Linked DNA regions of Homo sapiens: region 1 is linked to region 2. The links are contacts of gene promoters, found by promoter capture Hi-C in human tissues and cell types (Jung and others, 2019). All regions are on one chromosome and are shown on one strand. Each heading gives the region's core, a stretch centred on a gene start or on the middle of the fragment in contact. The rest is flanking DNA. Distances are from core to core; before and after follow the strand shown. Region 1 overlaps RPL28 (ribosomal protein L28). Region 2 holds the start of SHISA7 (shisa family member 7).

Region 1 (7,134 bases), core at 2,483-4,982, 49 kb after region 2:
AATTAAATCTGAGAATACCAAGTGTTGGCAAGGTGGCGGAGCACTAGGAACTCCTATAGACTCCAGTTGGAACAGTGAGATGGTAAAGCCCATTTTGAAACTTTGTAGTCAAGTCAAAAGAACTCAACTTATTACTCAACAACCTTTTTGGTTTCGGTTTGGTTTTCATTTACATCGAGGTTCCCTTTGTTTCTATTTCTTCACAACCATCCATGCCGGGGTAACTCCTTCCTGCGTCTCAAGCCCAAATCCCACTCTAGAAATTCACATTCCCATTTCTTTCTTTTTGTTTTTTTGAGACAGAGTTTCGCTGTGTCACCCAGCCTGGGGTGCAATGGCACAATCTCAGCTCATTGCAACCTCTGCCTCACAGGTTTCAAGCGATTTCATGCCTCAGACTCCCGAGTAGCTGGGATTACAGGCGTGTGCCACCAAGCTGGGCTAATTTTTGTATTTTTAGTAGAGACAGGGTTTCACCATGTTGGCCAGGCTGGTCTTGAACTCCTGGTCTCAAGTGATCCGCCTGCCTCGGCCTCCCAAAGTGCTGGGATTACAGGCATGAGCCACCACGCCCAACCTCACATTCCCATTTCTGACTCTATAGGACACAGGTTGTTTTCTTTAAGAAGATGCGGTATCACTATGTTGTCCAAGATGGACTCAAACTCCCGGGCTCAACTGATCCTCCCACCTCCCACCTCCCACCTCCCACCTCCCACCTCAGCCTCCCTAGTAGCTGGGACTATAAGCACGCACCACCATGCCCAGCTCTCATGTACTTGGACATACACAACAGGTTTAAAACATTTGTCCTGGCCGGGCGCGGTGGCTCACCTATAATCCCAGCACTTTGGGAGGTCGAGGCGGGTGGATCACAAGATCAGGAGATCGAGACTATCCTGGCTAACACGGTGAAACCCTGTCTCTACTAAAAATACAAAAAAATTAGCCGGGCGTGGTGGCGGGCGCCTGTAGTCCCAGCTACTCAGGAGGCTGAGGCAGGAGAATGGCGTGAACCCGGAAGGCGGAGCTTGCAGTGAGCCGAGATCGCGCCACTGCACTCCAGCCTGGGAGACAGAGCGAGACTCCGTCTCAAAACAAAAACAAAAACATTTGTCCCGATTACAAACAGCAGAAACATGCTTGTATATTTAAGAAACAATACCATACAGCACAAACATAATCAAAACTAAGCAAGTCACAAAAGATACTACAGCTTGAATGCCTTCATACACAATTCAAAAATAGGCAAAAATAAATTCTCCTGCTAAACATACATATGGTGGTGGTAAACTATAAAAGAAAACAAGGAGGCCGGGTGTAGTGGCTCACGCCTGTAATCCTAACACTTTGGGAGGCTGAGGCAGGCAGATGGCTTGAGCTCACAAGTTCGAGACCAGCCTGGGCAACATGGCGAAACCCTGTCTGTACAAAAAACACAAAAATTTTCTGGACGCTGTGGTGTGCACCTGTAGTCCCAGCTACTCAGGAGGCTGAGGTGGGAGGATGGCTTGAGCCTGGCAGGCAGAGGTTGCAGTGAGCCAAGATTGTGCCACTGCACTCTAGCCTGGACGATAGAGCCAGACCTTGCCTCAGAAAGAAAGGGAAGGGAGGCCAGGCACCGTGGCTCACACCTGTAATCCCAGCACTTTGGGAGGCCAAGGCGGGCGGATCACAAGGTCAGGAGATCGAGAACATCCTGGCTAACACGGTGAAACCCTGTCTCTACTAAAAATCAAAAAAATTAGCCGGGCGTGGTGGTGGGCACCTGTAGTCCCAGTTACTCGGGAGGCTGAGGCAGGAGAATGGCGTGAACCCGGGAGGTGGAACTTGCAGTGAGCCACTGCACTCCAGCCTGGGTGACAGAGTGAGACTCGTCTCAAAAAAAAACAAGGGGAGTGGAGGGGAGGGGAGGGATGGGGAGGGGAGGGGAGGGGAGGGGAGGGGAGGGGAGGGGAGGGGAGGGGAGGGGTGGGGAGGGGAGGGGAGGGGAGGGGTGGGGAGGGGAGGGGGGAGAACTTTCCTAAAAGTGAGAATACTGTTTACCTCCAGCCAGGGTTGAATACTTGGGTGGTTTGAGGGTCTGGTAGTCTTCCATTTCCTGACCTGGGTATTGGTTACATAGGTGTTTTATGATTTTTTAAGTGTATAAATACATTTTATGCACTTTTCTGTGTGTATGCTGTATTTCAGAATTTTTAATTTTAAAGTTTTTTTTTTTTTACAAGTTTACATTCTTGTTGTTCAGGCTGGAGTGCAGTGGTGCCAACATAGCTCACTGCAACTTCAAACTCCTGGGCTCAAGTGATCCTCCAATCTCAGCCTCCCAAGGAACTGGAACTACGGGTGCACACTACCACGCCCAGCTAATTTTTTTGTACAGATGGAATTTCACTGTGTTGCCCAGGCCGGTCTCAAACTCCTGGGCTCAAGGGATCCTCGCATCTCAGCCTCCCAAAGTGCAAGGATAACAGGCATGTGCCACCGCGCTCAGACAAAGGTTACTGTTAAGTCAAAAAAGCAAGGTGCAATATGCCTTGTATGGGACACTACCAGTCATGTAAGGAAGCCGGGGGCAAAAGAATACATATATAAATTTCCTTGCATTTGCATAGAATTTCTCCAGAAAAATACACGAGAACCTGGTAACATTGGTTGTCCCTGATCAAGGGAACTGGTTGTCCCAGATACAAGAATGAAAGGGAGCCATTTCATTATAGAAATTTTTATCTTTAAAATGAGAAAAAGAGGCTGGGCGCGGTGGCTCATGCCTGTAATCCCAGCACTTTGGGAGGCCAAGGTGGGCAGATCACAAGGTCAGGAGATTGAGACCATCCTGGCTAACACAGTGAAACCCCATGTCTACTAAAAATACAAAAAATTAGCCGGGTGTGGTGGTGGGCGCCTGTAGTCCCAGCTACTAGGGAGGCTGAGGCAGGAGAATGGCGTGAACCCGGGAGGCGGAGCTTGCAGTGAGCCGAGATGGCGCCACTGCACTCCAGACTGGGGGAGAGTGCAAGAGACTCTGTCTCAAAAAAAAAAAAAAAAGAGAAAAAGAAGGCCAGGCACAGTGGCTCACGCCTGTAATTCCAGCACTTTGGGAGGCCAAGATGGGTGGATCTCTTGAGGTCAGTTCAAGACCAGCCTGGCCAACATGGTGAAACCCTGTTTCTACTTAAAATACAAAATTAGCTGGGCATGGTGGCGCATGCCTGTAATCCCAGCTACTTGGGAGGCTGAGGCAGAAGAATCGCTTGAACCCAGGTGGTAGAGGTTGTAGTGAGCCGAGATCGCACCACTGTACTCCAGCCTGGGCGACAAGAGTGAAACTCTGTCTCAAAAAAATAAATAAATAAATAAATAAGAAAAGGAAAAAAAAGAAAGGCTAATATTCATCACATGGTATTCCAACTCTCCTTCCTTGAGACAAATGTTTGCATATTGTGACTATCCAGAGGCATTCGATGCATATACAAGCAAATACACATGCATCTTATTGTTTAAATATTTAAAAATATTTAACAGGAATGTTGGCATATCATTTACACTATTTGCAGGTTGCTTTTTTTCACTTAATATATTTTAGAGATTGGCCCAAAACATAAGCTTTTTCATGTTTTAAAAATTCTGGGTGGGGCCAGGCACAGTGGCTCACGCCTATAATCCCAGCACTTTGGGAGGATTGAGCCCAGGAGTTCAAGACCAGCCTGGACAACATAGTGAGATCGTGTCTCTACAAAACAATTTTAAAAATTAGCTGGGTGTGGCAGCACACACCTGTGGTCCCAGCCTCTCTGGAGACTGAGGTGGGAGGACTGTTTCAGCCCAGGAGTTCAAGGCTACAGAGAGCCTTGATCTTGCCACAGCACTCCAGCCTGGAAAACAGAGTGAGATTCTTTTTAAAAATATATATAAATAAATAGAAATTCTGGGCTAGGTGCAGTGGCTCACACCTGTAATCCCAGCACTTTTAGAGGCCAAGGCAGGAGGATCACTTGAGGTCAGGAATTCAAGCCCAACCTGGGTAACACAGTGAGACCTTGTCTCTACAAAAATATTTAAAACTTAGCTGGGTGTGGTGGAGCACACCGGTGGTGCCAGCTACTTCGGAGACTGAGGTGGGAGGATTGTTTGAGCCCAGGAGTTCAAGGCTGCAGTGAGCCGAGATTGTGCCACAGCACTCCAGCCTGAGCAACAGACCTTTATCTTTTTGTTTGTTTGTTTGTTTTTGAGACGGAGTCTCGCTCTGTCACACAGGCTGGAGTGCAGTGGCGTGATCTTGGCTCACTGCTACCTCCGCCTCCTGGATTCAAGCGATTCTCCTGCCTCAGCCTGCCAAGTAGCTGGGACTACAGGCGCACACCACCACATCTGGCCAGTTTTTAGTATTTTTAGTATAGATAGGGTTTCACTGTGTTAGCCTGGATGGTCTTGATCTCCTGACCTTGTGATCCGCCTGCCTGGGCCTCCCAAAGTGCTGGGATTACAGGAGTGAGCCACCGTACCCAGCTGAGACCCTGTCCCTTTAAAAAAAAGACTTGTAGCTGGGTGCAGTGGCTCACACCTGTAATCCCAGCACTTTGGGAGGCCAACACAGGCAGATCACCTGAGGTCAGGAGTTCGAGACCAGCCTGGCCAACATGGTGACACCCCCGTCTCTACTAAAAATACAAAAATTAGCCAGGCGTGGTGGCGGGCCCCTGTAATCCCAGCTACTTGAGGGGCTGAGGCAGGAGAATCGCTTGAACCCAGGAGGTGGAGGTTGCAGTGAGCTGAGGTCGCAGTGAGCCAAGGTCATGCCATTGCACTCCAGCCAGGGCGACAGAGCAAGACTCCATCTCAAAAAAAAAAAAAAAAAAACAAATTGGTGATTGGCAGGGCAGGGGCTAGAGGGGACATGAGTGGGAGTGGCTGCTTCATGGATACTGGGTGTCCATTCAGGATGATGAAATGTTCTGGAATAAGATAGGGGTTGTGGTTGCAAAGCTTTGTGAAGACTAAAAATCACTGAATTGTGCACTCTAAAAGCGTGGACTTTATGTTACGTGAATTATACCTTTTTCTTTTTTTGGAGACAGTCTTCATCTGAGCCTAGGGACCAGCTAGGAGCTTCAGGGAGGAGAGAGGCCTCAGAGATTACAGCCTAAGGAGGCTGGGGAGACTGGACAGGGCCAGATCCCGGGCCTTGCTGGCCCTAGAGAAAGGTTTGGGCTTTTATTCCTCATGGGGGTCGGGGGGGGGGGGGGGTGCGTCGGCCAAGGGAGGATGACAGGTCTCATTTATCATTTGTAAAGATCAATTTGCTACTGTGTAGAGAACAGCCTGGAGGGACAGCAGGGGAGCGGGCGGGTGTGGGAGGCCGGTGGGAGCTGGGGCCGCTGGAGGTGTGATTCAGACATGCTAGGGATGGCTGGGCCTGGGGGAGGGCCAGGTGTTCAAGAGGAACAGAGGAGAGGGGTGCTGGGGAGCCTCTGGGGGATTAGCCATTGAGGGGTGTGTTTAAATGAGTGGCTTCATCAATGCAGCGCTGATGGCCATCGAAAGGGGCCCGCAGCCTGTGTGTGCTGATGGAGAGACAGCCCAGTGCATTAGGGAAAAGGAGCAAGGGGGAGGTTCCTGTTGCCATGATCCAATCTGTGTAAGACATTAAAAGATGAGGCTGGGGCCGGACGCGGTGGCTCACGCCTGTAATCCCAGCACTTTGGGGGACCGAGGCGGACGGATCACGAGGTCAGGAGATCGAGACCATCCTGGCTAACACGGTGAAACCCCGTCTCTACTAAAAATACAAAAAACATTTAGCCGGGCGTGGTGGCGGGCGCCTGTAGTCCCAGCTCCTGGGGAGGCTGGGGCAGGAGAATGGCGTGAACCTGGGAGGCGTAGCTCACCCGAGGTCGCGCCACTGCACTCCAGCCTGGGTAACAAAGCGTGACTCCGCCTCAAAAAAAAAAAAAGATGAGGCTGGGTGCAGTGGCTCACGCTTGTAATCCCAACACTTTGGGGGACGAAGTCAGGAGGATTGCTTGTGCCCAGGACTTCAGGACCAGCCTGGGCAACACAGTGAGACCCTGTCTCTACAAAATATCTTTTTAAATTAGCCAGGCGTGGTGCTGCACACCTTAGTCCCAGCTACACAAGGGGCTAAGGCGGGACAATTGAGAGTGCCCAGGAGTTAGAGGCTGCAGTGAGCCGTGATTGCGCCACTGCACTCCAACCCAGGCAACAGTGAGACCCCGTCTCTTAGACAAACAAAAAGAGGAGATCTGCATGCATATGTGTGAAGTTTCCAAAAAGGAGAAGCACAGGTGGCTAACTTAGGGGCTGGGATTCTGAGATTTTCTTCCCCTGCATACTCTTCTTTCATTTGCAGTTTTTCAAGACCACATGCATATTTCATAATGAAAGATTTTAAAGTAGATGATTTTATTCTAGTAACTGGCTACAAGAGAAACAGGGGAATTGATACCATTCCTGGGCAGCGCCAAACAGCCTGGGCTGGAAATGCAGCTGAGGACAGAATGATATTCACAAACACGGGCAGGAGGCTGGGAAAGCTCACAGCCCCACAGGACGGCGGGGCAGACCTGGAGCCACCAGGCATTACTGCACATGGATCTGGCATGTCTTCCAGGTGCTTGGGAAACACGAGCATTAGTTTGTGTACAAATTAGTCATAGGCATGTGAAGACATCTGTGATCATGAGTCCATCTGATCAAAATATTTATAAAAAGTCATTAATTTATTCCTACAATCAGGATTTGTGGGCACAGTCAAGCAGGTTTTGCACATTTAATCTTCTCATCAACCCTGAGTAGTAGGGTCTATCGACACGCATGTTACAGATGAGGGTACGAAGACACAGAGAGGTTGAGGAACTTGCCCAAGGTTGCACAGCCACCGAGCAGCAGAGCCCTGACCCAGTAGATGCCAGCATGTCCTGTGAACAGAGGATGCCTCAGTCCCGAGTCTCTGCTGCTGTGGGGAGTCTGGAGTCCCCAGCGCTCTGCACAACTTTGGGCTTGGCAGCCTTCCAGGGTGCGCCCTACGCTCACTCACCATGCAGCTACTGGACTAAGAGCTGGAGAGACAGCAGTGAACACTGAGACACCTGCCTTATGCAGGGCTGTGAAAGG
Region 2 (6,949 bases), core at 1,586-4,085:
GGGTAGACACTGCAGAGTGGAAGTGCATGGTAATCCTAGTTAACTTCTTTTTTTTTTTTTTTTTTTTGAGACGACGTCTCACTCTGTCAGCCCAGGCTGGAGTGCAGTGGCACGATCTCTGCTCACTGCAAGCTCCACCTCCGGGGTTCACGCCATTCTTCTGCCTCAGCCTCCCGAGTAGCTGGGACTACAGGCGCCCGCCACCACGCCCGGCTAATTTTTTGTAATTTTAGTAGAGACGGGGTTTCACCGTGTTAGCCAGGATGGTCTCGATCTCCTGACCTCGTGATCCACCCGCCTCAGCTTCCCAAAGTGCTGGGATTACAGGCATGAGCCACCGCACCCGGCCAACTTTTTTTTTTTTTTTTGAGACGGAGTCTCACTCTGTTGCCCAGGCTGGAGTACAGTGAGTGCAATGACATAATCTCGGCTCACTGCAACCTCCACTTCCGGAGTTCAAGCGATTCTCCTGCTTCAGCCTCCTGAGTAGCTGGGACTACAGGCGCACGCCACCATGCCCGGCTAGTTATTTTTGTATTTTTAGTAGAGACGGGGTTTCGTCATATTGGCCAAGCTGGTCTTGCAAGTGATCATATTGGCCAGGCTGACCGCAAGTGATCCGCCCACCTTGGCCTCCGAAAGTGCTGGGATTACAGGCGTGAGCCACCGCGCCTGGACCAATTCTAGTTAACTTTTTAAGGAACCGCCAAACTCTCTTCCACAGTGTGGGGTCAAGCCACTTCTAAGACTCCCATTAAACACCCAGGAGGAAGTGTCCAGTGGGCAGTGGGGTATTCTAGCACCGAGTCAGGGGAGGGGTCCAAGCTGGAGCTGAAAAGGAAAGGTGAGGCCCCAAGCAGGAGGGCGATGGAGCTCACTGAGGCTCTGGAAGGTTCACCTTCCAACCCTCTGCCCATCCCCACCAGCAGCAATGTTGTTGACAGTGGTGTGGTCCCTAGACACACACACGATGGATGGTGGCATATAATAGAAAATAACACCGAGTGATATTTATTGACTCAATCCCATCCACCCCCTCCATCCCTTTATGCTGCTTTCATTTCTTCACGGCTTCCTTCATCATTCCTTTTTATTTCTTCACAATTGGCGTCAACATGTGTCCCATTCATTTGTGTCCATCTGCTGACTGTCCCCCCTCACTAGCACGTAAACCCCCGTAAAGGCAGGAACCCTGTGGGCTTACTCACTGCTGCATCCTCAGCCCAGGGAGGCTGCTCAGGAGACATTTATTGAATGAAGATTTGCAGAACGAATGCACACCCCGCGCATCATGCCTGCTCCTGGGAAGCTCTATGGCAGCCTCTCGGCAGCTAGCTCAGGGCAGGGGCTGTTCAGATCAGGTTCTTGCAGAGAGGAAATGTAAGACTCCGTGGGCAGTCACCCCAGACCCCTGGGGGGTTCCTCCTGCAGGTAGAGCTCAGACGTTTCCTTCTCCCGGAACCCGAGGCCAGGCATCCTTCCCACCTCTATCATCCCTCTAGGTCCACGGGGGTGGGCGTGTCTGGGACTTGGCTGGACTGTTGCCATAGAAACAGCTGGAAGACGTGCCCACCACCACCACCACCAACTCCCACCTCTCTTCTGCATCACCTTTTCTCTCTCTTTTGAGACAGGGTCTCACTCTGTCAACTCAGGCTGGAGTGCGGTGGTGAAATCACAGCTCCCAGCAGCCTTGATCTCTGGGACTCAAGTTATCCTCCCACCTCAGCGTCCTGAGTACCTGGGACTATAGGTGCGCACGACCACGCCGGGCTAATTTTTTTTTTTTTTTTTTTTGTAAAGACACGGTTTTGCTGTGTTGGCGAGGCTGGCTGGTCTCCTGCTTGAGCAATTTGCCCACCTTGGCCTCCCAGAGTGCTGGGATTTACAGGCGTGAGCCGCCGCACCCGGACGACCCTTTCTCAGCCTGTATCTCCCTTCTGAAATAGCAGCAGCAGCAAACACTTTCATATTTCACCTGCAATATGCCAGGCACTGTTCTAAGCTCTTTACACATATTCCCTCAGTTCATCCTCCTGACCACTCAGAGATAACCATCCTTATCCCCATTTTACAGATGGGGGACTTGGGGCACAGGGAGCTTAGATAAGAGCCTGTCAGTGTCAGGCAGCTGGCAGGAGGTCCAGTCGGCAGGGGAACCACCCTGCTGTGGTTGTGGTTCAGCTGTGGACAGAGACCCTTCAAACCCGACGCCGTAACAGTGGTGTGTGTGTGCGTGTGCATGCCAGGGAGAGAGAGAGAGAGAGGGAGAGAGAGGGAGGGAGGGAGGGCACCTAAGATCCCTTGATTATCAGATCTAACTAAGGGAGAGAAATTGGCATTTCGGGGCACTGAGGACCATAGGGGTGTAAGTCAGTGGTTCTCCACGGGGGCAGCTGTGGCCTCCTCCCACCAGGGGAACATTTGGCAATGCCTGGAAACATCTTACATTGTCACAACTCGGGGGAATGTGGTGCTGCTGGCATGGAGAGGGCGCTGCTAAACATCCTACAGCGCTCAGGACAGGCGCTCACCACAAAGCAGCATCGGTCCCCGAATGTCAGTGTTGAAAAACCGTGCACTGCCTCTTCCCACTTGCCTGGTCTATAAACTCAAATTCTCAACTTCTCTCTCTCCTCCTCCCTCCCTCTCCTCCCCCTCCTCCTCCTCCCCTTCTTTTCTCCCTCCTTCCCCGTCTCCCTGACTCCTCCTTTCCCACCCACCCCTCATCTGTCTCGCTTCCTTCCCTCCCTCCGCGGTCCCCACTCCCCTCGCCACCCTCCCCTCCCCTTCGCGCGCCTCCCTCCAGCTGCCTCCCCTGCCCTCTCCTCTTCGCCGCCCCCGTTTCTTCTCCTTACATCGCGCCTCGCCTCGCTCCTCGTCCTAATGTCTGCACACCCCTCTGGTGTCTGTCGACCCTCCCAATCGCTTCTCCCGCATTCATCTCTCGCCTGATCCCGGTTCTGTCCGCCCATGCTCATTTCTCTCCCCCAGCCGTGCCCGGGCGCGTTTCCATTACTCTCCCATCGTCGCCCACCGCGCGTGGGGCGGCCAACTTGGGCCCACGCAGCTCAGCTCCCTCCGCCCTTCCTGCCTCCTGGCGCCTGTTGCTCCCCACACTCTGCCGCCCCCCGCCCGCCCTCCCCAGCCTCTCTGCCCACCCATCTCTACGTTTCTCACCCTCTGACCGTTTCTCTCCCGCCCAGCGCTCCAACCTCTGCTCTCGTTCTCCCCGCAGCCTGGCGGCCCAGTGCGACCCCCTGCAAGCCCCATGCCGGCCCTCCTGCTCCTCGTACTCCTGGCCTCTAGCGCCGGCCAGGCCAGGGCGCGCCCGTCCAACGCCACGAGCGCCGAGCCCGCGGGCCCGCTGCCCGCCCTGCTGGCGCACCTGCGGCGCCTGACCGGGGCGCTGACGGGCGGCGGGGGCGCGGCGAGCCCAGGCGCCAACGGCACCAGGACCGGCCCCGCGGGCGGGGCGGGCGCGGCGGCCCGGGCGCCCCCTCCCGCCGAGCTCTGCCACGGCTACTACGATGTCATGGGCCAGTACGACGCCACCTTCAACTGCAGCACCGGCTCCTACCGCTTCTGCTGTGGCACCTGCCACTACCGCTTCTGCTGTGAGCACCGTCACATGCGCCTGGCGCAGGCCTCCTGCTCCAACTACGACACGCCGCGCTGGGCCACCACGCCGCCGCCGCTAGCTGGGGGCGCCGGGGGCGCTGGGGGTGCGGGCGGGGGGCCAGGGCCCGGCCAGGCCGGGTGGTTGGAAGGGGGCCGGACTGGGGGTGCCGGGGGCCGCGGGGGCGAGGGCCCCGGGGGCAGCACAGCCTACGTCGTGTGCGGGGTCATCAGCTTCGCCCTGGCCGTGGGCGTCGGCGCCAAAGTGGCCTTCAGCAAGGCGTCCCGTGCGCCCCGGGCGCACCGGGATATCAACGTGCCCAGGTGCGTGTGCTCTCGGGCGGGAGGACTGCGAGCCTGGGGCGGGGCCCAGCAAGGGAGGTGGAGCCATCCGAGGAGGAGGGGCTGCAGGGATAGGGCGTGGTGGTCAGAGACCCAGGTGGCGGCCGCCGGCGTAGCTGAAGGTGGGCAGGGGCTGAGAAAGTCGCGCCAGAGCCGGCCCGGCTGTTGCGGAGTGATGCAGGGAGAGGGAGAAGCCCAGACTCTCATTCATTCGACACATATTTCTTGAGCACCTTCTGTGGGCCAGGAGCTGGGGATACACCAGTGAACAAAACAAGGTCTCTGCCCTGGTGGAAAAGCCTGACTTCCAAATCCAAGTTCACAGCCTACAGGCTATGTGACAGTGGATGAGTTGCTTAACGTCTCTGTTCCTCAGTTTCCTGTCCGCACAATGAGACTAATCATCGTCCCCACCTATTCGGATTGTAATTAACTGAGTTGATTCGTGCAGGGTCCTGGCACACGGTAAGGGCTCATTAACTATCAGTGGCCCAGTCCGTAAGCATGTGCAGTGTAATTTTAGATGACTGCTGTGAAGAAAATCAGCGGAAAGTGTTGAGAGAGAGGGCGCTGGATTAGAGGAAGTGATCCGAAAAGGCCTCTGAACGGAGACCCGAAGGGAGGGAGCGAACCACGCAGAGATCTGTGGGCGAGAGGTTTTGGGCAGGGGAACCGCGTGCAAAGGCCCTCGGTGGCCTGCAGGGCAGGGAAGCGCCCGTGCAGCTGGCGGCGGTGGGCAGCAGGAGGTGAGGAGAAGTAGGCGGGCCCGGGTTTATCCTAAGTGTGATGGGGCCACTGCAGGGTCCTGAGCTCGGGCGTGATGCCATCTGTCCATTTTTTAAATTATGCGGGCTGCGCGTGAGACTGGAGTGTACGGGGCTAGGGTGGGAGTGGGGAGACCCGTGAGGGGGCTGTTGCAATGATCCAGGTGAGAGATTGCAGAGGTGGTGAGTAGTGGTCTGATTTGGGATATGTTTTGGAGGTTCGATCCGTAGGATTGCTGAAAGGTATGAAGGTGGGGGAAAGAAGAGTCAAGGTGATTTAATGTTTGAGGTCCGCATCACTGGGTAAATGGAGCACCCTTTGTTGCCATGGGGAAGGCTGCAAAAGGAACGGGAATGGGGTCCCAGATTCAGGGTGGGGCGAGCCCACAGGGAAGTGAGAGGGACCACAGAAGCGATGGCTTCCACACGAGTTAAGGCAGCAGCGCTTCAAGCAGGAAGTGTGGCCTGAGAAAGGGGGTCATTCTAGGGGGCGTGGCCAACGAGAAAGGGGCGTGGCCAATGGCGAAAAAGGCAGGCTGAGTGACAGATTACCCAAGGGCGAGAGCAGGGAGCGGAAAGAAGCCTTCCTGGTACCCCTGCCACCCTCAGCCCCCAGGCCTTTGACCACCTCTCTGCCACCTTTAGAGCTCTGGTGGACATTCTGAGACATCAGGCGGGGCCTGGGACCCGCCCGGACCGGGCCCGAAGCAGCTCCCTGACCCCGGGGATCGGCGGTCCCGACAGCATGCCCCCCAGGACGCCCAAGAACCTCTACAACACCGTGAAGACCCCCAACCTCGGTGAGTGGAACGTGGGATCCGGCGCAGCCTCCGTCTCTGGCCACGCCCCTTCATCATGTAGCCCCGCCCTCCATGGCGGCTCCACCCCCATCGCCCAGGACCCGCCCTCACCCCCTACGCCCGCCTTGCACTGCCGGGTCCTGCCCTGCGAAAGGCGGACGGGGGCTAGGAACTCCGTAGAGAGCCAGACCCTCTCCTTGCCCTCCTGTGGACCCCCCTGGGTGGGGCTCCATGGGCACCTTGGTGATGTAGGTTTAGACATTCTCAAGCCCCTGCGCTCGGTGTCAGACCACCTAACAGCCAACTACACACAAGGGCACAACTACCAAATTCGAATTTGTCAGGAGCCAGACCGACTGGGTTTGAATCCTGACTCTGCCATTGTGTGACCTGGGGCAAGTGACCTCACCTCTGTGGGCCTCAGTTTCTCCATCCATAAAATAAGAAACATAACAATACTCACTTCATGGGGTTATGGTGAAGAGCAAATGAATTGGTGAGGCAGGTGATTAGAATAATGTGTAACACAGAAAAAAATACTATGTAAGTGTGGGCTGTTGCTATTGTTAAATATATATAATTATATATTTAAAATATGATATATCATATTTAATATTGTATATCATTTAAATATGATCTATATTATTATAATTTATGATGAATGCATCAGTGGAGAGGTCCAAGGAGCTGTCAGGGGAACTGAGAAGATGTGGTCTGGTTTGGGGGCAGAAGGGCTTCTCCGAGGGGGAGGTATTTGAGCAAAGGCCTGGAGGAGGAGAGGCGTTAGAAGGGCTTCTCCAAGGGAGAGGTATTTGAGCAAAGGCCTGGAGGAGGAGAGGCATTAGAAGGGCTTCTCCGAGGGAGAGGTATTTGAGCAAAGGCCTGGAGGAGGAGAGGCGTCAGAAGGGCTTCTCCGAGGGAGAGGTATTTGAGCAAAGGCCTGGAGGAGGAGAGGAGTTACTGGGGCTGGGAAGCTCCAGGTGGCAGAGCTTGTGAGGTGACCAGACTTGAGGCCAGGGAGAGGGTGGTTGGTGACCTCAGAGAGGGCCTTGAGCGCCAGGCTGGGCTGAGGAACTCCGCCTCCGTCCTGAGGGTGATGGAGAGCTGCGGAGGAGTTCCAGCAGAGGAGCAACACAGCCAGCAGTGGGTGGTAGAACCGGTCCTCTGGAACCCATGCAAAGGGCAGAGATGAGAGGAAAGAGGCCCAGGAGGAGGCTGGGATGATGGTCCAGGCAGCAAGAGGACAAGGACGGAGCTGGGATCAGGGGTGGAGAGGAGAAGAGACATCTGAGCTGGATCTTGAGGCAGATGGGAAGAAGGGCTTCAAGGCAGTGAGAACAGCATGGTGGCATGTGCAAAGGCCCTGTGGCAGGACCACGCTGGGCTCACTGGAGAGAGCAGTGCGGCTTGAGGGAAGGGATGGGA

Evidence for each region. Contacts are between HindIII fragments. The study calls those that stand out against the background at their distance.
Region 1: a fragment that was not itself captured here is called in contact with the fragment with the promoter of SHISA7 in region 2 in 2 of the 25 tissues and cell types used here (dorsolateral prefrontal cortex and psoas muscle).

What each region holds. Positions count from the first base shown.
Region 1 is chr19:55,391,358-55,398,491 of GRCh38, reverse strand. RPL28 (ribosomal protein L28) reads right to left here. Exons shown (of 5, transcript NM_000991.5): 5 at 6,407-7,134. Among named protein-coding and RNA genes, the nearest start is that of MIR6805, 6.7 kb to the right of the region's middle. RefSeq lists an enhancer at 20-119. The HindIII fragment of the contact is 6,942 bases long and covers 262-7,134 here.
Region 2 is chr19:55,439,186-55,446,134 of GRCh38, reverse strand. SHISA7 (shisa family member 7) reads left to right here and starts at 2,835. Exons shown (of 4, transcript NM_001145176.2): 1 at 2,835-3,942; 2 at 5,370-5,524. The coding sequence starts at 3,272. RefSeq lists silencers at 3,932-4,021, 5,586-5,655 and an enhancer at 3,515-4,143. The HindIII fragment of the contact is 24,914 bases long and covers 1-6,949 here.